4 separate regions of the Homo sapiens genome follow, and regions 2, 3 and 4 are each linked to region 1. The links are contacts of gene promoters, found by promoter capture Hi-C in human tissues and cell types (Jung and others, 2019). All regions are on one chromosome and are shown on one strand. The core of a region is centred on a gene start or on the middle of the fragment in contact, and the rest is flanking DNA. Distances in the headings are between cores, read along the strand shown. Region 1 holds the start of ECH1 (enoyl-CoA hydratase 1). Region 2 holds the start of PPP1R14A (protein phosphatase 1 regulatory inhibitor subunit 14A). Region 3 holds the start of ZFP36 (ZFP36 ring finger protein). Region 4 overlaps SAMD4B (sterile alpha motif domain containing 4B).

Region 1 (7,135 bases), core at 1,226-3,725:
CAGCCATAAATAAAATCAACTAGGGTTTATTGTTTTTAAGCCAGTCAAGGTGATAAAAAGTGAATTTTACCAGTTTGTCTCCTAGCATCCAATTTCATTTCCTGTTACCAGTTTGAGTCTCCTTCCAGAGATATTACATACATACACCATATTCTGTGCAGGTCCAGCTACACTCTTTTTTTTGAGACATTGTCTCACTCTGTCACCCAGGCTGAAGTGCTGGAGTGCAGTGGCATGAGGTCAGCTCACTGCAAACTCTGCCTCCTGGGTTGAAGCAATTCTCCTGCCTCAGCCTCCCAAGTAGCTGGGATTACAGGCACCTGCCACCACGCCCCGCTAATTTTTTTTTTTTTTTAGACAGAGTCTTGCTCTGTGGCCCAGGCTGGAGTGCAGTGGCGTGATCTCACATCAGTGCAAGCTCCGCCTCCTGGGTTCACGCCATTCTCCTGCCTCAGCCTCCCGAATAGCTGGGACTACAGGCGCCCGCCACCACGCCCGGCTAATTTTTGGTATTTTTAGTAGAGATGGGGTTTCACCGTGTTAGCCAGGATGGTCTCGATCTTCTCACCTTGTGATCCACCCGCCTTGGCCTCCCAAAGTGCTGGGATTAGAGGCATGAGCCAACACGCCTGGCTAATTTTTATATTTTTAATAGAGATTGGGTTTCACCATGTTGGCCATGCTGGTCTCAAACTCCTGACCTGAGGTGATCTGCCTGCCTGGGCCTCCTAAAGTGCTGGGATTACAGACCTGAGCCACCGCACCCAGCCCAGCTATACTTTCTTACACCAAAGGAACAAAGGATCATACTAAATGTTCTATTACATCTTCACATTTTTTTCTCACACATTTTTATTTTTGCATAGAGGTTTCAGAGTTTTCTATGGTATAAACAGTCTACTGTTGATGGGTAGTTAATGGTTCTGTCTTTCAAAAGAGCCTGCTTTTCTAGTCTGTGAAAACACACAGGAGACAGGTTCATTAAGGAAAGATACTTCCTTCAATCTCACTGGCCCAGAGACATCTGTTCACCGCCTTGCTCAATGTCTCCCCAAAAAGCATACTTAAGCAGTTTTACAGTACTTTTTTTTTTTATTTTTTTGAGATGGAGTTTCGCTCTGTCCCCAGGCTGGAGTGCAGTGGCGCCATCTCGGCTCCCTGCGAGCTCCGCCTCCGGGGTTCACGCCATTCTCCAGCCTCAGCCTCCCCAGTAGCTGGGGCTACAGACGCCCGCCACCATGCCCGCTAAGTTTTTGTATTTTTTTAGTAGGGACGGGGTTTCACTGTGTTAGCTAGGTCAGGAGGTCGATCTCCTGACCTCGTGATCTGCCCGCCACGGCCTCCCAAAGTGCTGGGATTACAGGCGTGAGCCACCGCGCCCGGCCAGCAGTTTTACAGTACTTTTTATGCCTTTTGGTAGCTGGCTTTTCCCAAGGGAATTTCGGTTTTTTTGTTTTGTTTGTTTTTTTTAAGAACATGAACTTTTTTTTCTTCTTTTTTTTTTTTTTGAGATCTTGCTCTGTCGCCCAGGCTGGGGTACAGTGGTGCCATCTCTGCTCATTGCAACCTCCGCCTCCTGGGCTCAAGCCATTCTCTTCCCGCTAGGATTACAGGTGCCGGACACCGCACCCGGCTAATTTTTGTATTTTTAGTAGAGACGGGGTTTCGCCATGTTGACCAGGCTGCTGTTGAACTCCTGACCTCAGGTGATCCGCCTGCCTCGGCCTCCCAAAGTGCTTGTATTACAGGCGTGAGCCACTGCGCCAGGCTAAGAACATGAACTCTGGTGCCAGGTAATCCTGCTTTAGCCCTTCTGAAGCCCACCGACCTTGAACCTAGTGTCTTCCCGTGCCTGGGCCAGTTTCCTCTGCATATAGTAGGAAATAGTACGACCTCCTGGTGGGAGTTCATATTATACAGTCAGCGCTTAATGTTGGCCCGTCTGTACTCATTCCTTTACCTGAGTAAACTCACAGTACTGCAAGTTTTCTTTTATTTTTAGTTAACATGATATATACATGCATGATTACAAGCTCTGCTGCAATTATGTCCTTGGACATTTCAGCTGTCGCCTATTATTCCACCATTATGAAACAGCTGTGTGATGAACTTTAGCGGGAGCTGTTTGCTTTTCTGTTTTTTTTTTTGTTTGTTTGTTTTGTTTTTTTTAAGACGGAGTGTCGCTCGGTCGCCAGGCTGGAGAGCAATGGCGCGATCTCGGCTCACTGCAAACTCCGCCTCCCAGGTTCACGCCATTGCAGGAGCTATTTTCTTTGGCCAGGTTCCCACTGGGGCAAAGGGTCCATTTCTGAGCCTGGCTCTATGTAAGGCAACCGGAAATCGACTGCCCTTAGTAAAGATGGCGGAAAGAACGGCGTCATTGCCTGTCAGGTTGCGGCATCGGTGCCCTCGCTCAACATGGCGGCCTTCTGTGCCCGCCCCCTCCGCTAACGGGCACGTTACTCCGTCCGAACGCAGTAGACGAAGGCGGCGGCGATGGCGGCGGGGATAGTGGCTTCTCGCAGACTCCGCGACCTACTGACCCGGCGTGAGTCACCTCTTGCCTTATGGGGGTGCGTCGCGCTGTCGTGCTGTTATAGCAGATGTAGGACGGGGAGGGCTATCCGGGGTCACGAAGGGCCCGAGTCCCCTAAATTCAGGGGTGCGTGTGCTCCCTTTTGAAGGACTCCCTAATTCGATAGGCCTGTGTCTTGCAGTCTGGGGTCATCAAAGGCTGTTCCTTTCTCCCCAGGACTGACAGGCTCCAACTACCCGGGACTCAGTATTAGCCTTCGCCTCACTGGCTCCTCTGCACAAGAGGAGGCTTCCGGAGTAGCCCTCGGTGAAGCCCCAGACCACAGCTATGAGTCCCTTCGTGTGACGTCTGCGCAGAAACATGTTCTGCATGTCCAGCTCAACCGGCCCAACAAGAGGAATGCCATGAACAAGGTCTTCTGGAGGTCTGACCTGCAGATCCTGGAGGCCTGCCTGCGGGGGGAGGCGGGGCTGCGGGACTGGGTGAAAGTGGAACGTTGTGGGAAGATGGACATGAGGGCAGGGTATTCCCGCCCCATTTGTAACCCTTCACTCGTTGCTTCACAGAGAGATGGTAGAGTGCTTCAACAAGATTTCGAGAGACGCTGACTGTCGGGCGGTGGTGATCTCTGGTGCAGGAAAAATGTTCACTGCAGGTACCAGACGCTCTTCACACACCCTGCCAGCCTTCCTAGCTCCTGGCAATAGACAGTGGAGCAGTGCTTCTGAATTAGGGTTTTAAGCAGCTTCTGACTTACACACTTTTTTTTTTTTTTTTTGAGACGGGGTCTTGCTCTGTTGCCACGCTGGAGTGCAGTAGCGCAATCTCAGCTCACTGCAACCTCCACCTCCCGGGTTCAAGCAATTCTTCTGTCTGGGACTACAGGCGTGGGCCACCACACCCAGCTAATTTTTGTATTTTTAGTAGAGACGGGGTTTCACCATATTGGCCAGGATGGTCTCCATCTCCTGACGTTATGATCTGCCTGCCTCAGCCTCCCAAAGTGCTGGGATTATAGGCCTGAACCATTGCTCCTGGCCCCTAACTCACACTTTTATCTGTGTGTTTTTTTTTTTTTTTTTGGAGACAATATCTTTCTCTGTCACCCAGGCTGGAGTACAGTTGCCTAATCATAAATCACTGTAACCTCAAATACCTGAGGTCAAGCGATTCTCCCACCTCAGCCTGCCAAAATGCTGGGATTACAGGCAGGTGCCACCATGGCCAGCCCTATCATTTTTTTAAAAAAAGGCCTACTTTAAAACATTCAAATATAAGTATTAGTCTGACAGAACACGATGGGATCATAGGCTCTGAAGTCTAGGTTTCCATCCTGGATCTGTGGCCATGAACAACATGCTTAACCTCTCAGCCTATAGCTGTGTCAGCATATAATATAATAACATGCTTTCGTGCAACTATTCAACTCACTAATTGATTTCCAGTTACAGGTCAGTTGGATCTTTGGATTGACCCACTGACCTTTTCTTCAGATTGGAGAATTTCCACTGGTCACAGTTACTAACTGTTTAGTCATCTCTATCCTTCTGTAAAGCCCATCCAGTGATTTATTTTGTTTTATTTTGTTTCAGACGGAGTTTTGCTTTTGTTGCAATGGTGCAATCTCAACTCACTGCAACCTCTGCTTCCTGGGTTCAAGTGATTCTCCTGCCACAGCCACCCAAGTAGCTGGGGTTACAAGTGCCCGCCACCACGCCCGGCTAATTTTTTGTGTTTCTAGTAGAGACGGAGTTTTACCATGTTGGCCAGGCTGGTCTTAAACTCCTGACCTCAGGTCATCCACCCACCTAGGGCCTCCCAAAGTGCTAGGATGATAGGCGTGAGCCACCGTGCCCAGCTACTACCCACTGATTTTAAATTTCAGATATTGTAGTTTTCTTTCTTTTTTTTTTTTTTCTGAGACAGAGTCGCTCTGTCACCCAGGCTGGAGTGCAGTGGTGCGATCTCGGCTCGCTGCAAGCTCTGCCTCCCGGGTTCAGGCCATTCTTCTGCCTCAGCCTCCCGAGTACTGGGACCACCAGTGCCTGCCACCACACCCAGCTAAGTTTTTGTGTTTTTAGTAGAAACGGGGTTTCACCGTGTTAGCCAGGATGGTCTCGATCTCCTGACCTCGTGATCTGCCCGCCTCGGCCTCCAAAAGTGCTGAGATTACAGGCGTGAGCTACCACGCCCAGCCCAGATATTGTAGTTTTCAATTCTCCAATTTCCATTTGGTTCATATTTTATTTTATTTTATTTATTCATTTATTTTGAGACAGAGTCTCGCTTTGTCACCCAGGCTGGAGTATAGTGATGCAATTTTGGCTCATTGCAACATCTGCCTCCTGGGTTGAAGCAATTCTCCTGCCTCAGCCTCCTGCATAGCTGGGATTACAGATGCCCGCCACCAGGCCTAGCTAATTTTTTTTTTTTTTTTTTTTTTTTTTGGAGAAGGAGTCTCACTCTGTTGACCAGGCTGGAGTACAGTGGTGCAGTCTGGGCTCACTGCAACCTCCACCTCCCAGATTCAAGCCATTCTCCTGCCTGAGCCTCCTGAGTACTTGTGATTACAGGCACCCGGCACCACGCCTGGCTAATTTTTATATTTTTAGTAGAGACGGGGTCTCACCATTTTGGCCAGGCGGGTCTTGAACTCCTGGCCTCCAGTGATCGGCCCCCCTCGGCCTCCCAAAGTGCTGGGATTACAGGCGTGAGCCACTGTGCCTGGTCAGTTGTATATTTTTTGTCATGCATGTTTTTCTTCCTGCCATTGAGCATAGTTATAATGACTGATTTAAAATCCTTGTCTTCTGGCCAGGTGTGGTGGCTCACGCCTGTAATCCCAGCACTTTGGGAGGTCGAGGCAGGCGGATCACGAGGTCAGGAGATCGAGACCATCCTGGCTAACATGGTGAAACCCCATCTCTACTAAAAATAAAAAAAAAGAATATTAGCCAGGCATGGTGGCGGGCACCTTTAGTCCCAGCTACTCGGGAGGCTGAGGCAGGAGAATGGCGTGAACCTGGGAGGCAGAGGTTGCAGTGAGCCGAGATGGCGCCACTGCACTCCAGCCTGGGTGACATAGCGAGACTCCCTCTAAAAACAAAATAAAAACAAAACAAAAACTCCTTATCTTCTAATCTCAACATCTGGGTCATCTTGGGGTCAGTCTCCTTATCATCTTTTCGCTTGGAAATGGCAGGCTGGGCTCAGTGGCTCATGCCTGTAATCCCAGCACTTTGGGAAGCTGAGGTGGGTGGATCACTTGAGGTCAGGAGTTCAAGACTAGCCTGGCCAACATGGTGAAACCCCGTCTGTACTAAAAATACAAAAATTTTCCCGGCGTGGTGGTGCATGCCTGTAATCCCAGCTGCTGGAGAGCCTGAGGCAGGAGAATCGCTTGAACCCAGGAGGCAGAGGTTGCAGTGAGCCTACATCACGCCATTGCACTCCAGCCTTGGTGACAAGAGCGAGACTCTGTCTCAAAAAAAAGAAAACGGCTTCACTTTCCTGTTTCTTTGTATTTTGAGTTAGTTTGGATTGTTTCTTGGATATTGGGATATAGGAATAAGATGTGGATACTCTGGATTCTATCATATAGTTCCAAAGAGTGTTGAGTTTCGTGTTTTGGTAGCTTAGTTGGAATTAGTTTTTTTGGTTTTTCTGTTTTTATTTTTATTTTTTTGTAGAGATGAGGTCTTGCTATGTTGCCCAGTCTGGTCTTCAACTCTTGAACTCAAGCGATCCTCCTGACTCGGCCTCCCAATGTGCTGGGACTACAAGCGTGAACCACTGTGCCTGGCTTCTTGCTGATTTACAGACCATACATGCACCCCCAGCAAAAGATTTAAAAACTAATCTTCAGCCAGGGCAACACACTGAGACCTTGTCTCTAACAAAAATTAGCTGGGTGTGATGAATGACCACACTCCCAGCTACTCTGGAGGCTGAGGTGGGAGGATGGCTCGAACCAGGGAGGTCAAAACTGCAGTGAGCTGTGGTCGTGCCACTGCACCCAGCCTGGGTGACAGTGCAAGAACCCATCTCAAAACAAAAACAACAACAAAAACATACATCTCCCAGCAAGAGATTAGGGCAGAGTTGATACACAGAATTCGGGACTCCTCGCTCTGGCTCTCCCCTCTTTGGAATATCCCCCCTCACTTCCCGGCAGCTTTGGTCACCTTGGACTCTATCCTGTGGCTCTTCAAGCACAATTTCAGTCTGCCCTCAGGCTGAAAGTTTTCAAAACCATTTTCAAAAACACCGAGAGAGTGTTCTGCCACTCTCCTAAGTGGTCACTCCCTCCAGAATCTGCCCAGTGCCTTCAGATAATTGTTTGTTTCTTGTCCAGCCAGCGTATGTAGTTGTCCGTGGGAGGGTTGGCCCTTTAGGACTGAACCAGAAGCAAAATATTTCATACACTGATTTCTGCACAGGGCCCAGAGCCTGGTGCTGGGAACCCAGTCTTGACTAGGACAGTCCCAGGCCCTGTTGTCATGGCGTTCCCAACTCAGTGGGGAAGACAGACAGTAAACTATTTCTTTCTGTTTTGTCCATTAACATATTCCCAGGTCCCTTTCTTTCTTTCCCTCCCCT
Region 2 (7,135 bases), core at 1-2,500, 580 kb after region 1:
CGATTCTCCTGCCTCAGCCTTCCGAGTAGCTGGGATTACAGGCATGTGCCACCAGGCCCAGCTAATTTTTGTATTTTTAGTAGAGATGGAGTTTCACCATGTTGGCCAGGCTGGTCTTGAACTCCTGACCTCGTGATCCACCCTCCTTGGCCTCCCAAAGTTCTGGGATTACAGGAGTGAGCCACTGCGCCCAGCCACATTTAAATTTTAGAGTATAATTATTGCTGCTTATAATTAGAAGTGAGAAGACTGTTTTGAAGTAAGGGACTTCCCTGGCCACCCTCGCTAAAATTGCAACCTTACCCTCACTCCATTTCTCCTTCTCTGCTTTATATTTCTCCAAAGCACTTATATGATAATAAACTGTATAATACCGTACTTACTGTGTTTCTCATGTATCCCGGCTACAACTGTCAACTGCGTGGGACTGGTTTTGTCTGTTTTGTTCCCTGCTCTATCCCTGGAGCGTAAAGCAGTGTCTGGTATAGAGTGGATACTTAATAGATATTCGTTGAACCGGGCCAGTGGCGGTGGCTCACGCCTGTAATCCCAGCACTTTGGGAGGCGGAGGCAGGCAGATCACTTGAGGTCAGGAGTTCGAGGCCAGCCTGGCCAACATGGCGAAATCCCGTCTCTACTAAAAATACAAAAATTAGCCGGGTGTTGTGGTGCATCCCTGTAATCCCAGCTACTTCGGAGGCTGAGGCAGGAGAATCGCTTGAACCTGGGAGGCGGACGTTGCGGTGAGCCGAGATCGCGCCATTGTACTCCAGCCTGGGCGACAAAGAGAGACATCGACTCAAAAAAAAAAAAATTCGTTGAACGGAATGAGTGAACAAACAAATGGATGGATGAGTGAATGAATGAACGAAGGAACAAGTGACCGCTCGACCTTCTACAGCGACAGCGGCGCAGGCGCTCCCGCACCAACAGCCCCCCACCCCGCCACCGCCAGAGGGCGCAGACAGGCCGGGTCCCGAGTGTCTGTCCCAGGCCCCCGCCCCACAGGATCCCGGCCCGGGAGCCCCCGATGCAGGGACCCGCCCGGGACTCTGGGTCCCCGCCCATACCTCAACTTCGCACGACTGCGTGCCTCAAGCCGACGCAGCGGCCTACTCTCGCACTGCAGACGGGGAAACTGAGGCCTGAGGCGGCCGGGGTGGGGCAGACCTCCCGGCGAGCCCGAGCCCCCGCCCCCGGCTAGCCCCGCCCTGGCCCGTAAGAAGCACCCGGGGCGCGAGGCGAAGGCGCACAGCGCGGGGCCAGGCTGGGTCCAGCAGCGCGATGGCAGCTCAGCGGCTGGGCAAGCGCGTGCTGAGCAAGCTGCAGTCTCCATCGCGGGCCCGCGGGCCAGGGGGCAGTCCCGGGGGGCTGCAGAAGCGGCACGCGCGCGTCACCGTCAAGTATGACCGGCGGGAGCTGCAGCGGCGGCTGGACGTGGAGAAGTGGATCGACGGGCGCCTGGAGGAGCTGTACCGCGGCATGGTGAGCCCGGGGAGGGCTCGGGGGTGGTCGGGGACAGATAGAGCCCGGGCGCGGAGACCCCACGCCCTTGGGGTCTCGGTGCACACTCGCTGGTGCACGGCCAGCCTGGTCTGCACAAGAGGACGAGCGCCCCAGGGCCGGGCACTCATTGGCCTGGCCATCCGTGCTCTATGGCATTGTGCTTGTGGACACACCGAGAGCAACACACAAAGACTTGGGTCTCCAGAGATGTGTCCAAACGCCTGTGGAGGGCCAGGGGTTTAGCATGAGGAGGGAGGAGGCTAAGTTGAGCTGAAACCGCCACGTCTGGAGAAAGAGTGGGGGAAGGGGGGTGTCATAAAGCCAAACACAGACATGGTGACAGGGGAGATACAGCCACACAGAGACCCACGGCAAAGGAAGCAAAAGCAGACACAGATGTGCACAGTGAAGGAAGCTATAGCCACTCACGGACACAGCCCAGAAGTAACAGCCATGCACAAACCCACAAGGACACAAGCGGGGGCTGGGGGGGGGTCACCTACAGTTCAACATATGCTACAGTCACAGCCACCCGCAGACACAGCGGCATGGGCCACAGCCGTAGGCAGACACAGCACAACCCCACTGGAACACAAAATGACTCAAGTTACGGCCCTTCCTTATCTCCTAAAGAAAAAACTGACCACCTTCAAGCACAAGCGCTGATCCGCAGCCACTCAAAGACATAAAACAACAGAAATTGGCCCAGCACAGTGGCTCACGCATTTTGTGAGGCCGGGGCAGGAGGATTGCTTGACGTCAGGAGTTCAACACCAGCCTGGGCAACATGGGGAAAACCTGTCTCTACCAAAAATCTTAAAACTTAGCCGGGCGTGGTGGCATGCACGCACTTGTAATCTCAGCTCCTCAGGAGGCTGAGGTGGGAGGATTGCTTGAGCCTGAGAGGCCAAGGTCACAGTGAGCCAAGATTGCACCACTGCACTCCAGCCTGGGCAACAGAGCGAGACCGTGTCTCAAAAACAAACAAAACCCAACAGAATTTATAACTACACCCAGACATAAAACTGTGTAAGCACCGGGCACGGTGGCTCACGCCTGTAATCCCAGCACTTTGGGAGGCCGAGGCGGGCGGATCACCTGAGGTCAGGAGTTTGAGACCAGCCTGATCAACATGGAGAAATCCCGTCTCTACTAAAAAATACAAAATTAGCCGGGTGTGGTGGCACATGCCTGTAATCCCAGCTACTCGGGAGGAGAATCGCTTGAACCCGGGAGGAGGAGGTTGCGGTGAGCCGAGATCCCGCCATTGCCCTCCAGCCTGGGCAACAAGAGCGAAACTCCGTCTCAAAAACAAACAAACAAACAAAAAACTGTAAGCTATAGGAACAGGTGGACATACAACTGCAGAACCCACCGCTGCTCACAGGCACACAAGAGCCTAAGCCACAGCTACATGTATTGACACACACAGGTACTTCATCACTTGAGTTTCTGCTTGAAGTCACACTTTCAGTGACTTCTTTTTTCTTTTCCTTAGAGGTGGGGCCTCATTGGCCGAGCACAGTGGCTCACGCCTGTAATCCCAGAACTTTGGGAGGCCAAGGTGGGCAGATCACTTGAGGTCAGGAGTACGAGACTAGCCTGGCCAACATGGTGAAACCCTGTCTCTACTAAAATTACAAAAATTAGCCGGGCATGGTGGCAGGCAGCTGTAATCCCAGCTACTTGGGAGGCTGAGGCAGGAGAATCACTTGAACCCGGGAGGCGGAGGTTGCAGTGAGCCAAGATCGCGCCATTGTACTCCACCCTAGGTGACAGAAGGAGACTTTGTCTCAAAAAAAAGAAAAAAGAAAAAGAGATGGGGCCTCGCTATGTTGCTCAGGCTGATCTTGAACTCCTAGGCTCAAGCAATTCTCTCTTGTCGGCCTCCCAAAATGTCAGGATTACAGGCGTGAGCCACTGCGCCTGGCCTTCTGTGACTTCTGTATGCTACAGTGTACACAGGACCCACGAGTCCTCCTCTTCATGGTGCGACAATGGTGGAAGGCATGGCCCTTCTCCCATGGTGACATGCAGTCCCTCTGTTCTCAGACTCACACCTGGGCCCATACAGGTGAACCAATCTGGTTGCTAGTGGCAGGTGGCATCTATGAGGCCATTCTCAGGTGGTGGGCCCCACAGCTGACTGTGGACACATGCTGATGTGTCACACACCCAAGCCAGAGCCACACACCTCACACCTGCAGGACCACAGTCCACTATACGAAGCCACTGCACGATGCCAGGTCCCTCTGCATCCTCGGCCAGCCCCAGGCCCTTGGCATCAGGCTGTGGCCCTGGCAGAGACTCACACACCTGTGTCCTTGCTGAAGCCCCTTCACCACACATGAACCAGGACCATCCAGCCCTGAAGCCCCAGGCCTGAAGCCGACAGCCGGACTTTGGGTTGGGGAGGAAAGGATTCATAACCCCAAGGCTCTCTTGCTCCCTCGACAGCTGGGGACAGCTGGGTCCTATTCCCAGCAGGGGTACTGAGCCAGCCTGCGCTTGGGCCACTGCCTGTAGAGGCCACACTCAGCGCCCCGCTCTTAGCAGCTGAGTTGAGCCATGACTCATCCCACCCACCCACCTTGAGGGGCCTCGGTGGTCCTCCCTTCGGTCTCACCAGGCTGCATTTTGGCCCTCTGGGGGCTGGCCCAAGCCGTCCCCTCCCTTCCTGTCCCCTCCCTTCCTGTCCCCTGGGGGAAGGGGCCGCCCCAGCTGGCTGCTGGCTGCCAGCCTCTCCTCCCCTGCACCTAGTGCTAAGACTTTTCCTTGAAAGGGCAGAAGCCAGCTCCTCTCCCGAATCCCAGAATCTGACATTCCAGGACTCCACTAGGCCTGTTTTCCTCTGTGGGAACTAGAGCCAAGGCGAGAGACCCGTGCCAGCCCCGAGGCTCCCGGGGCCCATGGGCCCAGGCATCGGGCTGGTACAGGGCCCCGGGGCTCTCTCAGCCCATCTGTCACCCCTCCCCCCCAACACCCAGATGTCCCGTCTTGGCAGTGCTGTCCCGGACTGCCACATTAATGCTCCAGAACCCGCCAGCTGGGCCCTGGGGCCGGTGGGGCTCCTGCAGAGCCCTGGACAAAGGCGAGGGAGGGAGGGAAGGGGATCCTAAGCACCCCTCCCTCCCTGGCCCTAGGAGGCAGACATGCCCGATGAGATCAACATTGATGAATTGTTGGAGTTAGAGAGTGAAGAGGAGAGAAGCCGGAAAATCCAGGTAGGTGGGGGGACGTGTCCCCCAGCCTCCCACTTTGCACCTCCCTAAAAATAATAGCAATAGTTCACGTGTTTACTGAGTGCTCACTAGATGCCGGGCACTGGTGTGATGGCTTTACATGTATTCACTCACTTAACCCTCACAAAACCCTCCGAAGCAGGCGCTAGTGTGAGCTCCATTTTCCCCATGAGGAAAATGAGGCCCAGAGAGGTTGAATCCCTTGCCCAGTGTCACACAGCTCAGAAGGAGCAGAGCTGGGCATCGAACCCAGGCAGTTTGGCAGCCATGTCTTTGCTTATGGCTTATACCTTTTTAGAGGAGGGAAGTGCTGTGTGACCCTCTCGCCCTCTCTGGATCTAGTAACTCACCCCTGCCCTGAGTCGATCCACATGCCCCTTGGGCTCTGTTCCTCTCTTGAAGCTTGGTGGGCAGTCCACCCTGGAGTCTGACTTCCATTTGTCTTGCTGCTGGGGCCTTTTGGGAAAGGGAAGGGGCTGGAGGGGAGTAGGTGTTAGTCATTTACTGTTTTGTTTTGTTCTTGGTTGGGGGTTTTAGGGACTCCTGAAGTCATGTGGGAAACCTGTCGAGGTGAGTTTTCTCTCCCTCATTCTCTCCCTGTTCTGGCCCCAAGTACTCTGATGGGGGAGGGGGAAGAAGCTGGCAGAAGGGTCTCTGGGGAACACCACCCGGCCCCACCACCCCCGGCCCCAACCTGCCCTCCGCAGCTCTTTCTGGTCTCCAGGGGTGTCTTTTGTCCTCCTACTTGTCTCTCTCCCTCTCTCCCCCATCTGCTGAGGGGGCTCCATTCTGTCCTCCCCCATCTGCCCTGTTTTTGCCTCTCCTGTGCCTGTCCTTTGGCCACCAGCCTTCGGGCTCAGTCTCCCTCTGTCCTCCCCTGTCACTGCCTCCGCCACCCCGGGCTCCCTTCCCCACCTCTGGGGGCCCTCCATCCTCCCAGGCCCTGAAGCTGAGCGGCCCAACCCCTCCCACTTCCTTCCCTGCTTTAAAAGGGAAAACTATTCATGTTTCTCCAACTAGCTCTAGGGACAAACGTCATTGCATTTCTGTTCGCCCTGGATCTATCTCTGGGGACCTGTCTCCACATGTCTCTGTTTCTTTCTCTGTCCTTATGTCTCTCTCTGTCTCTATCTCTACATGTCTCTCTGTTTCTGTGTCTGTTTCTCCCCCTCCCCCACTCCGTATCTGTCTCCTTGGATCTCTATCTCTCTTCCTAGCTCTTTCTCTCCATCCCTCCCATCGCCCTTTCCCCATCTCTGTCTTTCTCCCGGCTCACTTTTCTCTCTATGTCTATAGCCTCCGCCCCTAACTCCCCCCACCCCACAATCAGAGAACAGGAGGAGGCGCCCAGGTCAGGGACTGGGCTGGACAGGGGCAGAGGGTGCCCCCGCACTGTTCCCATGTTCTCAGCTCCCCCACCCTGTCTCAGGACTTCATCCAGGAGCTGCTGGCAAAGCTTCAAGGCCTCCACAGGCAGCCCGGCCTCCGCCAGCCAAGCCCCTCCCACGACGGCAGCCTCAGCCCCCTCCAGGACCGGGCCCGGACTGCTCACCCCTGACCCTCTTGCACTCTCCCTGCCCCCCGGACGCCGCCCAGCTTGCTTGTGTATAAGTTGTATTTAATGGTTCTGTAACAATAACACTGTGTGGCTGTTTTTCCTCCCCCCGGGTTACCATGGGCTTCCCCGAGCTCCCCCCACAACCTCCCTCTCTCCTCCTGTGGCCTCTGCTCATGTCCCTGTCCCAGCACTGCAGCTGGGCCTGCCAGATGGAGAATCACTCCTCCCGGGCCAGAAAGCATGAGAACGGGCCCTGCTGAGCCCACGCCCTTGGGATTTATATCCTAGACCTTGCCTTCCCTTGAACTCCCCACCCCACCCCCATCCCCAGTCCCAGCAAGCAGGGCCCCTATATGCAGGCTCCTGCAGGAATCTGGGTCAAGGGGCATGCTCATGACCAAAGGTGACCGATATTGACTCAGTACAGGTGATCACACAGCAAACAAATCATTCAGCCACTCCATGAAATCTGCGCTGTGCTTATAATGGCCCTTGGTACTGAGGCTGCAAAGATGAGAGGAAGATGGTCTCTGGCATCAAGGTGCTCACACACTATGGGGGGAGAAGGGCCTGAGTGTGAGAATCAGAACAAAGTGTGCTGAATGGCTCAAGATACCTGGGAGCTTGGCAGAGGGGAGGGAGCTATTCACTCTGGGGGTGGTGAAGAAATCTGGGAGGGCCTCCTGAAGGAAGTGGCATTAAGGTGGGCTTTGAAGGATGCATAGGAGTTCTGTGAAATGGATACCCTTCTCTGAGGACTCTGAACTTATGGGTGGAGGGATTGATATTGGGGCAGAGCCAGGGAAAACACCAAATATTGCCAGGGCCA
Region 3 (7,135 bases), core at 4,123-6,622, 580 kb before region 1:
AGTGCGAGCGGAGCAATGCCGAGGTTGTGAGTTCGATCCTCACCTGGAGCACTTTTTTTCCCCATCAGTTTTTATAAACTTACACATCTAATAAACCAACCAAAACATCTACATCACTTAGATGAATGAACGTTTCTATCTTTTGAATTATTGGGCTCAAAAGACTCCTAGGGCTTTGGCGACGGTCCTTTGGGTGTTCTGTATTGTAGGGAGGTGCCGTTTCCGTCCCAGCCACCAGGTGGGGGTATCGTCTCTTATTAGATGCTCTGGGCATGGAATTGTGTGCAAACAGTTTGACTTCTGTAGAGATGTGGGTCCTCGGCAAACTGTATATGACTCTGCCTCCTCTGTATTTCTCTGTCTTTTTAATGCCTCCTTTACAGATGAACATAGCTATCTGTCTTGGAGTTTTCGACCTCTGTTGAAAAGGAAAACTATGTTTTTGAGTCGACTTGTTTTTTCAATAAATATTGAACATTCACTATGCCTGGCTTCCTTTAGCTGTGTGTAATACAGCAGTGAACAAGTAGTCCCTGCCCCTGAGGACGCGACATTCTAGTGGGGAGGCAGATTGCTGTCAACATAAGAATTAAGTACATTTTAATGTTAGGTGGTGATGATAAATGTCATGGAAAAAGTCGAGCAAGGTAGGGAGGATGGGGTAGTTGGAGGTGGGGTGTGGATTGCAACAGCAGTGGTCAGGGAGGATCTCACAGAGAAGGCAACTTTTGAGCAGAGACATGAAGGAGGGGAGTGAGCCATGGGGACACCAGGGGAGTGTTCAGGCAGAGGGAACAGCTAGTGCAAAGCTCCTATGGATGAAGCAGACCAGACTTGGTAGAGCAGCTAGGAGGCCAGTGTGGCTGGAGCAGAGTGGCCAAGGGGGAGGGTAAGCGATGGGTGCCAGATTGTGTGGGCTGTGGGGAGGACTTCGGACTTTGACTTTTATGTGACCTGACTCAGGTCTCATAACAGGCTTCCTTTGGTTGTCTCGTGGGGGAGTGGAGAAAGGAGAGACTGAAGGCAGGGGCTAGAGCAGAGACTGGGGCTGGGGCTGCTATGAAGATGCAAATGGCAGACGATGTTGGCTAGGACCAGGGTGGGGGTCATGGTGGGGGCAGGTGGATAGTGGATCTATTTTGCAGGTGGATCAGACAGGATTGCTGTTGGACTGGGGTGTGGATTTGAGAACAAGGTGTCAAGGGATACTCCTGGGTGTCTGGCTTAAGCCCTGGTAGATGGTGAGAAGTGCCGTTTTCTTATATGAGGGATTTTTTGGGGAAGGGGCAGAGAATCAGATCTGGCTAAAGGAAGGACCAGAGATGTTGTTCTTTCAGTCTCCAAGACTGTTTCTGCAAATGTCTCTTCACTGCTTGCTCTTGGTCTCTGCCCCTCTGCTGCCTTTGCATCTCAGGGGTTCTGACTCCCTCTCGCCTGATCCTCTTCTACTTATTAGGGCCTGAGCCCTTTCCCACAAGGGAAGCAGTTTCCTGGAAGAGGAGACCAAATGTCAGTGAGCAAGGGGAGTGGGCCAAGGAGGCCTGAGAGCAGGAGGGAGGCTTGAGGAGGGTAGAGAGAAGGGAGAGGAGGGAAAGGGGCTTCAGAGGGAGAGAGAAGAGGAGAAGGAGTAAGGCTAGGGGGAGGAGGGGAAGAGGACAATGGGGAGTGGGAGGGCAAGGAAAGGGTGGAGAGGGAAAGAAGGACGGAAAAAGGGAGAGAAGGGAGACGGGAAGGAGGAGAAAGGGGGTAAGAGACGGCAGGATGGGGAGGCTGGAAGTGGGAGAGGAGTAATGAGGGAGGGGACAAATTGGAGGGGGAGAGAAGAACAGAAGGCAAAGGGTGTAGGGCGGGGCAGAAGGGTGCAGAGGAGGAAGTGAAAAAGAGGAGGAAGGGTGAGGGTAGGGAAAGGAGAGAAGAGGGAAGTGAGAGGGAGGAGGGAGGAGTGCGGGGCAAGGAGAAAAAAGAGGGGTCGCAGGGGGCGAAGGCTGGGCGGCAGGGCCGAGCCGCAGGCGCTGACGCAGGGCGGCTTCCGGGCGCGGGGCCCCGGGGTTGGTCCCGACGACGCTGGCCTTGTATGGTCTGAAGACGCGGCTCCCCCGGGGCCCCTCCTAGACGCGCGGCCCCTACCCACACGCCCTGGCCTCGCGGGGCCGACCCTGGTCGGTGTGCGAAGCCTCGGACTTCCAAGGTTCGGAAATGCCAAGACCCGGTAATTCCCGGGCTCCAGGGTCCCGGGTGGCCAGAAATCTGCAACTCCGAGCCACCAGGGGTCTAGAGTCTAAAGCGCTAGGGGATGCAACCTGTGACTCCCAAATGTTGAGATCCTAGCCTCTTGAGACCCTAAACCCGCTTCCCCAACATCCAGAAGGTGTCGAAGCCCCCCCGGAACCTCTAGTCCCGAAACGGGTTCCGCTACCCCAGGCTGCCCCGCCCCGCGCCCGCCCCCGCTCGCTCTGGGCGCGCGCCCCAGCACATTCCGTCCTCCCCACCCGGCCCCTCCCGCCTCCCGCGGCCCCGTGGGGACGGAAACATCCCGTCCCCGACCGCACCCGCCCGAAGCTGGGTCAAGGAGCCCAGCAGGACGGGAGCGCGGCGCCCCCGACGCCCGGGAACTGGCTCCCCCGGTTCCCATCTGGTGACCTCACCTGGTCCCACCCTTTCAGGTGAACGGCCAGGCCCGGTGACGTCACTTCCTGCCAGGTAAGCGCCGCGGGGCTCGGAGAGGAAGAGTTAACTGCACCCAGCTTCCAAAAAGTCACCCCCTCCCTCTCCATTCCTGTCTCTAGACCGCGAAGAAGCCAGGATCCCAGCTTACACTCAGATTGTTTATTTAAAAATGCCCAAAACACAAAAATAGACTTTTAAGGTAATAATATATATTACTAAATATATTATAGTCTACTTATAATAATTATATCGTCGTTTTCAATATTACAAAAAAAGGAAGAAAAATACAAGGGAAGCAGACGACCCAATATATATAAATACTATAAAATCATATTAGAATAAATAAAGTCGTCATAAATAAAGGGCCCATTGATTTATGGGTGGGGTTTGGCAACGGCTTTGGCTACTTGCTTTTGGAGGGTAATTTGAGCACCAGGATTCCCCCTCAGGAGAGGTTCCAGTTACCAGGAGACACTGGAACCTCAGGTCTATAAAAACTGGAGGGGCAGTGAAGGCCTATTATTCACAGCACATAAGATTCTAGGAGACAGATTTGGGCAGGGAAGAGGTGGGGGAGAGGGTTCATTGCCTCCCTTAAATATGCTACAATTTTTTTTCCCCCAAGAACCTCGGAAGACACTCCATCCCCCACCATCATGAATACTGAGCTTGCACACTTGGGGACCTGCCCCAGCGTGAGGTCAGGGGAGTGGGTTAATGCATTCTGGAAAAGGGGATTACTTGATTACTGTCCCCCAAGTCCCCACAGCCCTGGGGTCCATGCAGAGACCACAGTGCAAGAGACGTGGCTCCCCGCTGAGATCCAGCTGATCTGACCGGGCAGTCACTTTGTCACTCAGAAACAGAGATGCGATTGAAGATGGGGAGTCGCCGGGGGGCTGCCACGGGCTGGGGTGGTGCAAAAACTCCCGCCTCGAAGACGGGAGAGTCAGAGCCCCCCAGGCTGCTGCCGCTGCTGGCATATTCATCAGGGTCGGATCCCAGGGACTGTACAGAGGGGGTCCGAACCAGGCCACCCAAGGGCCCCCAGACGCTGATAGGAGTGGCCCTTCGGCAGGAGGGGCAACAGACTGGGGTGGGGTCTCTTCGAGCCAGGGGGGTGCCAGGGGCAGCAGAGAAGGCAGAGGGTGACAGTGGAAGGTCCCCAGGTGGTGGTGGGGAGCTGGAGGGCGAGAAGGAGCTGGAGGACAGGGAAGGGCCGGCCAGGCCTGGTGGTGGTGGTGAGGTCCGGCGGCCAGAGGGCAGGCCGGAGAAGCTGATGCTCTGGCGAAGCACAGGAGGGTGGCCCGGGGCCGCCAGGTCTTCGCTAGGGTTGTGGATGAAGTGGCAGCGAGAGCCGTAGGGGCAGCGGCCCTGGAGGTAGAACTTGTGACAGAGTTCCGTCTTGTATTTGGGGTGGCGATTGGCCTGGCGCAGCTCGCCCAGGCCATGGGCAAACTGGCACTTGGCCCCGTAGCGGCAGCGCCCACTCTCTGAGAAGGTCCGACATAGCTCAGTCTTGTAGCGCGAGGGGGTGGTGGAGGTTGCAGTGGGCGAAGTGGGTGAGGGTGACAGCTCAGGGCCCAGGCGGGGAGCCAGCGGTGCGAAGCCAGGGGGTGGGGGCACCCAGCCACAGCTGCGGCCCTCCACTAGGCTGGTGGAGCGGCCAGGCAGGCGGGAGGTGACCCCAGACGGGCTGGAGTCGGAGGGGCTCAGGCTCCAGGGTCCCGAGGAGCCCCAGCCTGGGCTGGACTCAGTCCCTCCATGGTCGGATGGCACGGGCACGTCAGGGCTCAGCGACAGGAGGCTCTGCGGAAATGGGTCGGTTAAGGCACCTGAAAATGCAGGGCGACGCCCCACCCCAGCTGCAGGGAACTAGAGCTTGCCAGGCCGGTTTGTGGGCTCCCCGCCTGAGCCCCACCCGCCCGCAGAAACCCCTGGGTTCCGGATGCCAGGAACCCAGAGTTGGAGGTTCTGAGTTTACCCACCACCGAGGCCTTATCCCGAGGGACCCAGGAATCCCGGCTTCCCCGGCTGGACCAAGAGGGGGACCCCGAAGTCAGGGCGCACCACTGTTTCCCAATTTTGGGTCTCTTGTCCTCCCCGGATATGACCCACGCGTCGGGATCTCCAGTTTCACAACTGGAGAAACCGGGCAAAGTTGACCTGGAAGTCCGGATTGCTTCGGTTTTAGGGTTCTCTGTCTCTACGGTCAGGGACTGGAGAGACAGAAGTCGGATCCCCCCACCCTGAGACTTCAGCCCCAGAGACGCCTCCGCGCAAAACCACGCCCTCAGCAACGACTAGGGGTGAGCCAGGTATGGGGGCCACTTCCGCCTCCAGGCAGCCTCGGTCTGAGAAAAGTTCTCCGACTTTCCACTTGCATGGGCCGCCCCACCCATGTTTGAGCGAAGAGCCGGGTGTCGCGGGTTCCATTTTCACCTCCAAATCACCAAGCTGGTCTGAGCGGGAGGCAGGGGCCCCAGGCTGGAGGGCGCGGCGCTAGGGAGCCCCAGTTGGAGAAGGGAGGCAAGCGTCCCGGGCTGGAGTTTGCGGCGCTAGAGAGGTGGGGACTCGGACTCAGGCATGCAGGTACCGGGGATGCCGTGCGGCGGGGACTCACCTCGTAGATGGCAGTCAGATCCATGGTGTAACGGTTGGCCATGAGGGGTGTCGGCCGAGAGTGGGAGCGCTGAAGTCAGGCTGAGGCTGGCACCGAGAGCCGGCTACTTATAGGAAACTGCAAGCACGGGGCGGGGCCGGGGCCGGGGCCGGGGGCGGGGCAGGAGGGGCGCTTCCCGGACGCGCGCCCCCGGCGCAGCCTGGCTGGCCCTGGACTGGTTCCCTTCCGCCCGGCCCTGGGCCAGGACGCGCCTGAGCTTGGCCGGTGGACAGCCGTGACCGAGCGGGGAATGCGTGGGGAAGGGGTGGGGGTGCGGATGGGGGGACGCCTGCCCAGTTTTCAAAGCTGGAGACTGAGGCTTGTAGAAGGAAACTGGGGCGGAGGTGGGGGCAGGGCCCCAGGGGCAATTGACAAGAGCAGAAGCCCGATGGGGGTGCGCGTGCGACACAGACGGATGGGGGCGGGGAGAGACGCAGAGGGGTACAGACAGGCAGACAGGCAGAGAGAAAAACATCGAGAGAGACACACACACCAAGAGACATACAGAGAGAGATAGACAGGGTGAGGAAGGGAGGGAAGACGGGGAGACAGAGACAGTCCCAGAGACAGATTCAGAGGGAGAAGAGGGTTGGGAGGATCACAAAAAGAAACAGAAAGGGGCTGAGCGCAGTGGCTCACACCTGTGATCCCAGCACTTTTTGTGTTTTTCTTTCCTTTTTCTTCTTCTTTTTTTTTTTTTTTGAAAGACGGGGTTTCCCTATGTTGCCCAGGCTAATCTCCAGCTCCGGGGCTCAAGCGATCCTCCCACCTCCGCCTCCCAAAGAGCTGGAATTACAGGTGTGAGCCACCAAGCCCGGCCAATCCCAGTACTTTCAGAGGATGAGGCAGGTGGATTACCTGAGATCAGGAGTTCAAGATCAGCCTGGGCAACAGTGAGATCCCATGTCTACAAAAAATACTATTTAAAAAAATTAAAAAGAAAAAGAAACTGGACAAAAAGGAGAAAGACTGTGAGAAATAAGCACTTACGGAAAGAAATCTGCAGAGCAAAGTGCCAAGAAAGAGCCAGCAGGCCTTGGAGGGGAATTCTCTGAGAACTGCCTGCCTTGTGTGGTCTCACTCCTAAACAGCCCAGACAGATAAGGAGACCTGGACTGCTCTCCCTCTCCCCACTTGCTGGGGTTGGGTGGGTGAGTGAGTGGGTTGGGTGGGGTCCAGGATACCTGGCAAGGCTGAAAAGGGGCCTCCTTTCCCAATTCACAGGGCGGCTCTAGCCCCCTCACCCTCGGGCGGATGATCTCTTCTAGGCTGAGTTAAGGAGAACTCACCTGGGCTGAGTTCTAAGTACTTTACGCACATTAATCCTAATGCCAGGTGGTATGCCCATTTAAGGCAGGAGGAAACCAAAGTGAAGTTACTCTCCTGCCCGGCTCACACCTGTAGTCCTAGCACTTTGGGCGCCCAAGGCAGGCGGATCACTAGAGCTCGGAGTCTGAGACTAGCCTGGGCAACACGGCGAATCCCCATTTCTACAAAAATGCAAAAATTAGCTGAGTGTGGTGGCGCACACCCTGTGGTCCCGCTACTCGGGGGCGGGGAGGGAGCAGGCTGGGGTGGGAGAGTCGCTTGAACCCAGGAGGCAGAGGTTGCAATGAGCCGAGATCAGGCGACTGCACTCCAGCCTGGGCCACAGAGCGAGACTCCCTCTCAGGGGGAAAAATAAAGTTACTCTCCTAGTTCGAGCTAGCAAATGGCACAGGCCTCATACTAGGGTCTGAAATTATGTCGAGGTTTGCCCTCTGAGAAAACTCAAGATTGGCAAGGTGGAGGTCTTTCACTATAACT
Region 4 (7,135 bases), core at 2,658-5,157, 540 kb before region 1:
TGTATACTGTCCCCTCTAATTATCCACCCCGTGCTTATTTCATGCTGTGCCTTCTACTTGGAATGCCCAATTCCTTTTCCTCTTTTGGTCCAAACCCCTATCAACATTGTTCAATCTTCATCCTTTAATGGCTGCTGGGGTACCCATGATGGGGAGCACAAAAGGTATGAAGACAAAGAAATTTATAGGCACCCTGCCTGGGTGACCCCTCCCCTTGGTGAGGGATGAGCATCTCCAGGAGAGGTACTTTTTGGTGGAGGTAGTGTAGCATAGTAGTTCAGAGTATGAAGTCTATAGTCAGAATGCCTGGCTTTAAACCTTGAGTTTATATGTATAAAGTTCTTAGAATAGCTCCTAGTAAAGACTAAGCACTCGATGTGTGTTTTTGTTTTTTTTTTTTTGAGATGGGGTCTCGCTCTGTTGCCCTGGCTGGAATGCAATGGCAAGATCTCGGCTCACTGCCACCTCCACCTCCTGGGTTCAAGCGACCTTCCTGCCTCAGCCCCCCGAGTAACTGGAATTATAGGCATGCACCACCATACCCAGCTAATTTTTATATTTTTAGTAGAGATGAGGTTTCACCATGTTGGTCAGGCTGGTCTCGAACTCCTGACCTCAGGTGATCTGCCTGCCTCGGCCTCCCAAAGTGCTGGGATTACAGGCGTGAGCCACCATGCCCGGACTAGCACTCAATATTTTTTGCCTAGAATGATCATTATTAATACATCCTCCCATCCTGGAACTGTGATGCTCCATGACTGGAAAATGAGGTCCAAGACACCTCAGGTTGCTAAGTTTCCTGAAACTGCCCTTCTATCCCTCTATCTTCCCAGGTTCTCACCAGCAACTGGGAGGGAGGCAGATGGACCAGAATAGCCACACTAACTGGGGGAAAAACAGGCTCAAGGAATAACTGATGAGCACCAGGTACCAGACAGCGGGGCATTAGGGACCCGAGGTTACCCCCACCCACTGACACATGTGACATTTCACTGTCACTCTCTCTTGTCTTGCTTTAAACCAGTGCCTGCTGAAGGTGACTAGCTACTCTGAGGTTTACATCATGAACCCTCTCCCTCACCCTGGGTCAGGTCATGCTGCCTTACCATGGCTTGGAAAATCCACCCTCCCTTATCCTGTGCATTTCAAAAAGTCACTGGGATACCAACAACTTCTGCTCACTCCCGCCTGCAGGGCTTTTACTAAGAGAGCTCTTTCAAACCTGCTTAGTTGGCAGGACAGTGTAGTGGTCAGAGGCAGGCTCTGCCATCAGACTGGTTGGGTCTGTTCCACCACTTGTTCTACGTGTGACTTTGAACACATCACTTCACCTCTGAGTCCCGATGTCCTCATCTGTTGAATAGGGCTAATGATACGGTTGTGATGCGGACTGAGATCATACCTGAAAAGTGTCTATAAAAGAGTACCTAGCATAGTCAATGCTGAAAAATGCTACCTACTATTACAAATACCTTGCAGCATGAGTTTTGTCTTATACAGACAGTGTTCTCAGAAACAAAGCTGTAAAGTGAGGCCAGATACATAAAATCCATAATGTTGTCTGAACTGGAAGGGATCTCAGATGATGGTATGCACACCTCCATCAAGCGTCATAGCCTGATGCCCTTAGAGGCCAGGTATATATCAGAAATGCCCAAAGGGGGGTTGGTGGGAGCAGAGGCAGACTAGGGCACTTGTGCAGGGTCTAAAGGGCATGCTCAACATTAAGCTCTATATTATTGCTGCCACTAGGAAAACAGATCTTGTTGAGTTGCTAGATCTTTTGACTTCTCAAGAAAGGCTGGAAATCTCATTTTTAGGGAAAAATTCTTGATTCTTTGTACCACTCACATTTATTTAAAAACCCAACACAACAAAATAAAACCAAACCAAAGTATGGGTTCAATAAGACATGTCTGTAGGTCAGATTCAGCTCTGGGAAAGCCAGTTCACAGCCTCTGCATTGCCTCATAAAGTTGAGGCCTACAGCTTATGTGACTTGTCTAATGCCACAGAGCGAGAGAGCTCTCACTGAGCCTAGTCCAACCTTTTTCAAGTAGGCATGGCCTTCTGGGACACCCCCGCCACTTACCTGTGTTTGCATTGCTCCCAATACTGTTGATGGCTGGCGGCACTGAGCTGGATGGGTGGAAGGGCACGTGTCCATTTTCCCGGGGTGGCTTGTCCTGCCAGCCTGGCCCTGCCTCCCCAGGGCCTAGCTCTGCAGGGCCCCCCCACTCATCTGAGCCTTGACGTGAATGGTAGGAGGGCTCTGGCCGGGAGCGGAAGCCACTAGCCAACCGCTCTTCCAGGTGGCTCAGCCAGAGGGCCAGTGCGTTGCGGTCCTCCAGTGTGGTGGCTGGGTGGATGAGGGCATAGGAAAGCAGCTGGCGACTCTCCTCGATGAAAGCATTGCTCTCGATTGAGTAGGCCAGCACTTTCTGCAGTAGCCTCATGTACTCCGACTTGGCCTCTGTGTTGCCTGGCTGAAGCAGGGGAAGGTGGGACAGCAGGAGGGACACCACCTTCTCTTTGGACTCCTGCTGCCACTGGCTGACGATGGCTACAGAAGGGATAAGAAGAAATATCAGGAGAGCCAGGGTGGGGTACTCCTATTCACCTGAGAGCACTGCCTATGGCCTATTCCCTCAGCTCCAATCTTCTTTTCATAACGATTTTCTTTTCATAACTCCCAAACTTATCCCTCATATAGGTGAGATCAAACACACTGACCCTGCCTCTGGAGTAATTTTTGTCTTATTTTTTTTAAGAGATGGGGTCTCACTATGTTGCCCAGGCTGCAGTGCAGTGGCTATTCACAAGTGCAATCCCACTATTGATCAGCACGGGAGTTTTGACCTGCTCCATTTCCAAACTGGGCCAGTTCACCCCTCCTTAGGCAACCTGGTGGTCCCCCACTCCTAGGAGGTCACCATACTGGGGCCACACTTAGTGCAGACACCCAATCAGCATAGCACACTATAGCCCAGAACTCCTGGACTCAGGCAATCCTCTTGCCTCAGCCTCCCAAGTAGCTGGTACTACAGTCATGTGCCCACCACAGCTGGTGTAGAGTAATTTTTCTTTGTTCTATCACTCCTGTTCTCAGAAACCTGCAGTGCCTCCCAATCAGCCAAACTTGCTACTCTGGAATCTGAACAACTCCTGTCCCCAGGCCTGCTCTCATGCTTTATCTCCATGACTCCTTCCTCCATTCTTCATGGCCTCTATGCCATTTCCCCTGCCAAAAAGCAGTCTCCTTCCTGAATGGAGAAGGCAGTGGTATATGGTAGTTAAAAGCTTGGGCTCTGGAATCAGATGGTCTAGACACCCCAGCTTACTAGCTAGATCTTGGTAAGCTACCTTGAACCTCATGGAGCACTAAATTATCTGCGAAATTTTGGAGATAATTACAGTACCCAATTCACAGTGTTGCTTTGAGATTCAATGAGCTAGCAAAGAACACAAAGTGGTTTGGCGACATAATAAATGCTTGCTATTGTTTTTTAACTGGTCTCTCTGCTTCTAGATTCTCCCCTTCCAATCGATCCCATACATCCAGATGCATTTATCTTCCTAAATCACAACAGGATGTCATGTTCCTGACCAGGAGTTTATAATGGCAACCAGCAAGCACCAACAGACTCAAGTCCAAGAACTCCTAGCCTAACATCACCTTCATTTCCAGGGCACCCTCCATCTCCCATTCCTCCAGATAAAGACTCAGCTCAGGATATCTCCCCATCTTCCTTGGGGTTCTCTCCACAGTATGTATTTATCCAAGCTCCACACCTTGGCTGAGATTCAAGGTTTTGGCCCGCAACAACCTCCTTCCTCCTATACAAATTCTCTTTTGTAGATGGCCTAACTTACTACCTTCCTCCAGGAAGCATTCCCTGGCTGTTCCATGTCATGGTCATCTTGACCTCTCCTTTCTATCCCACTGTGTGAGGACCTGAGTCTACCCTGTGGAGATAAGCCAGGTTTCCCTTTTCTTTTTTTTTGAGGCGGAGTCTCGCTCTGTCGCCCAGGCTGGAGTGCAGTGGCGCGATCTTGGCTCACTGCAAGCTCCACCTTCTGAGTTCATGCCATTCTACTGCCTCAGCCTCCCGAGTAGCTGGGACTACAGGCGCCCACCACCACGCCCAGCTTATTTTTTGTATTTTTAGTAGAGACAGGGTTTCACCGCATTAGCCAAGATGGTCTCGATCTCCTGACCTCGTGATCCACCCGCCTCAGCCTCCCAAAGTGCTGGGATTACAGGCGTGAGCCACTGCGCCCGGCCTCAGGTTTCCCCTTTCAACCCACAAGGGAGGTCCCTAAGAATATGGCCCCAGGCTGGCCACATCAAAGAAGGCTTGGGTAGGAACTGTTACAAGTCTGACTCTCCCCCTCAAAGACCTTATTAGCACTGGGCGTGGTGGCTCACGCCTGTAATCCCAGCACTCTGGGAGGCTGAGGCAGGTGGATCACCTGAGGTCAGGAGCTGGAGACCAGCCTGGCCGACATGGTGAAAGCCTGTCTCTACTAAAAATACAAAAATTAACCGGGCATGGTGGTGGATGCCTGTAATTCCAGCTACTTGGGAGGCTGAGGCAGGAGAATCACTTGAACTCGGGAGGTGGAGGTTGCAGTGAGCCGAGATCGCGCCACTGCACTCCAGCCTGGGGGCAAAGTGAGACTCCGTCTCAAAAAAAAAAAAAAAAAAAAGAAAAAGAAAAAAAAAACCTCATTAGCACTTCTGTGACTAGCTAAACAGGGTGGAAGATGGAGATAATGCTGACAGGACAAGGAGAGGGACAAAAAATACCAATACTTGGGAAAAGAGACAAAGATTTAGGTCTGAGGCCAACTACGCTCTCACCCTTGGGCAACTGAGCTCACATCTGTAGCCAAGGTGATGACTTACAAATATCTCACAAAGGAGTTCTGAGAGATGTGCTAATGGTGAGGTCTTGGAAATGGGCAAAGGAGCTGGCTCTAACCAGACAGAGCTAGGACCCCAAAGGAGTGGGTGATGAAAAGGAATAGGCAGAGATGTGGCATATGTCCCTTTACCACCACTTACTGGCCATGTGACTCTGGGCAAGTGTGATCACTTCACTGAGCTCTATTTTCTCTATCTGTAAAGTGGAGCCCAGAATCATTCCTACCTGGCATGGCTGCTATGAATTATGTGAGGCCACAGCATAGAGTAAGTCCTCAGTAAACACTAGCTGCTTTTACTAGTATTGTGGTTATTATATCTCACTGTGTCTCCCTCCTTTCAGATACACACAGAGATTCTAAAGGCACAAGCCAAATCTCTGGGCCCAGGAAACCAAGAGGCTAGGAATAAGCACCTATAAGGAAAGTCTTGGAAACCTAGACATCTGAGGGTCTTTCAACCCAAGTTCCTTAGGCCTTTACGATTCCAAGGACATCTAGCATGCTTCAGGATTGACTTAAAAAAAAAGTTCCATGGACTTCTGGTCTCCTCTGCCCACACTGAAGGATGGACACCTGGCCTTGCATACAAACTCAGAAATGCCCTGTCTGTAGCCCTATTTCTCTTAATGATCCCCTTAGAACTCTGTGGCCTAGAATTCACATACACTCCTAATTCTGCTTAAGTTTGTAGCCTTAGGAAAATGAATCTCACACAGTTCCTAACTCCTGGCTATAAAGACTGTGCATTTTCTTGGCCTGGGGCTCTTTGCTCTAAGCTTCCAAGAGAGAACACCTGTTTGTTAGTTTTTGTTTTCTATTTTTCTGAGATGGAGTCTCGCTCTATTGCCCAGGCTGGAGTGCAGTGATCTCAGCTCACTGCAACCTCCGCCTCCGGGTTAAAGTGATTCTCCTGCCTCGGCCTCCCAAGTAGCTGGGATTACAGGCGTGCACCACCATGCCTGGCTATTTTTTTTTGATGGAGTCTCACTTTGTTGCCCAGGCTGGAGTGCAGTGGCACGATCTCGGCTCACTGGAACCTCTGCCTCTGGGGTTCAAGCGATTCTCCTGCCTCAGTCTCCTGAGTAGCTGCGATTACAGCCACATACCATGACACCCGGCTAATTTTTATATTTTTAGTGGAGGGGGCGTTTAACCATGTTGCCCAGACTGGTCTGGAACTCCTGACCTCAGGTGATCCACCTACCTTTCCTCCCAAAGTGCTGGGATTATAGGCGTTAGCCACCGTGTCCTGCCTGTTACTTTTTTCACTATGTTGGCCAAGCTAGTCTCAAATTCCTGCTCTCAAATGACTTGCCCACCTCAGCCTCCCAAAGTGCTAAGATTACAGGCATGAGCCACTGTGCCCAGCCAAGGGAACACCTGTTAAATCCATTCATTCAAAGTCATCAACTCATACTATGTCTACAGCATTGGTTAAAATTAATAGTAGAACCAATACCACTATTGCTGTTGCTACTACTGACAATAGCAATAACATATGGCACTTTCATTCAGAATGAAGGATACTGTTTATTGAGCATTTACTATGTGCCAGACACTATGCTAAAAATGATTGCTTTTCATCCCTGTTTTAATCCTGTTTTGGTGTGCTCATCTTGCAGGTGAGAAAACAGATTTGGGAAGGTGAGGTCACACACCCTAAGTGACAGAGCCCATTAAGCGACACAGCTGAGATCTGAATCCAGGCTCTGTGTGCCTCCATTTTTTTTTTTTGACATGGAGGCTTGCTCTGTTGTTCAAGTTGGAGTGCAGTGGCATGATCTCGGTTCACTGCAACCTCCACCTCCTGGATTCAAGCAATTCTCCTGCCTCAGCCCCCACCAGTAGCTGGGATTACAGGCGCACGCCACCACACCTGGCTAATTTTTATATTTTGAGTAGAGACGGGCTTTTGCCATATTGGCCATGCTAGTATCAAGCTTCTAAACTCAGGTGATCCACCTGCCTCGGCCTCCCAAAGTGCTGGGATTGCAGGTGTGAGCCATGGTGTCCGGCAGGGAGGAACTTTTTTTTTTTTTTTTTTTTACGGAGTCTCGCTCTGTCACCCAGGCTGGAGTGCGGTGGCACGATCTCGGCTCACTGCAAGCTCTGCCTCCTGGGTTCACACCATTCTCCTGCCTCAGCCTCCTGAGTAGCTGGGACTACACACGCCCGCCACCACACCCGGCTAATTTATTTTTTTTTG

The links. The method cuts DNA at HindIII sites, captures the fragments that hold promoters and counts their contacts. A contact is called where the count stands out against the background at its distance.
Region 2: the fragment with the promoter of PPP1R14A here is called in contact with the fragment with the promoter of ECH1 in region 1 in 1 of the 25 tissues and cell types used here (bladder).
Region 3: the fragment with the promoter of ZFP36 here is called in contact with the fragment with the promoter of ECH1 in region 1 in 1 of the 25 tissues and cell types used here (dorsolateral prefrontal cortex).
Region 4: a fragment that was not itself captured here is called in contact with the fragment with the promoter of ECH1 in region 1 in 1 of the 25 tissues and cell types used here (dorsolateral prefrontal cortex).

Annotation. Positions count from the first base shown.
Region 1 is chr19:38,827,134-38,834,268 of GRCh38, reverse strand. ECH1 (enoyl-CoA hydratase 1) reads left to right here and starts at 2,475. Exons shown (of 10, transcript NM_001398.3): 1 at 2,475-2,548; 2 at 2,753-2,960; 3 at 3,103-3,191. The coding sequence starts at 2,497. The region is part of intron 1 of LOC124904712 (a long non-coding RNA gene); the gene reads right to left. RefSeq lists an enhancer at 2,427-2,576. The HindIII fragment of the contact is 9,746 bases long and covers 1-2,580 here.
Region 2 is chr19:38,250,489-38,257,623 of GRCh38, reverse strand. It overlaps PPP1R14A (protein phosphatase 1 regulatory inhibitor subunit 14A), which reads left to right and starts at 1,250. Exons shown (of 4, transcript NM_033256.3): 1 at 1,250-1,485; 2 at 4,650-4,730; 3 at 5,286-5,318; 4 at 6,178-6,387. The coding sequence starts at 1,285. The coding sequence ends at 6,306. RefSeq lists a silencer at 1,271-1,458. The HindIII fragment of the contact is 12,856 bases long and covers 1-5,677 here.
Region 3 is chr19:39,405,084-39,412,218 of GRCh38, reverse strand. ZFP36 (ZFP36 ring finger protein) reads right to left here and starts at 5,372. Exons shown (of 2, transcript NM_003407.5): 1 at 5,291-5,372; 2 at 2,812-4,476. The coding sequence starts at 5,314. The coding sequence ends at 3,520. MIR4530 (microRNA 4530) reads left to right here and starts at 2,541; the gene lies at 2,541-2,596. TRI-TAT1-1 (tRNA-Ile (anticodon TAT) 1-1) reads left to right here; the gene lies at 1-51. RefSeq lists enhancers at 9-108, 519-608, 3,682-4,320, 4,321-4,958, 5,009-5,208 and 2 more and silencers at 1,809-2,128, 2,479-2,538, 5,329-5,778. The HindIII fragment of the contact is 20,061 bases long and covers 1-7,135 here.
Region 4 is chr19:39,365,083-39,372,217 of GRCh38, reverse strand. It overlaps SAMD4B (sterile alpha motif domain containing 4B), which reads right to left. Exons shown (of 14, transcript NM_001384574.2): 4 at 2,093-2,563. It also overlaps the pseudogene RN7SL566P. Among named protein-coding and RNA genes, the nearest start is that of PAF1, 22 kb to the left of the region's middle. The HindIII fragment of the contact is 4,760 bases long and covers 1,528-6,287 here.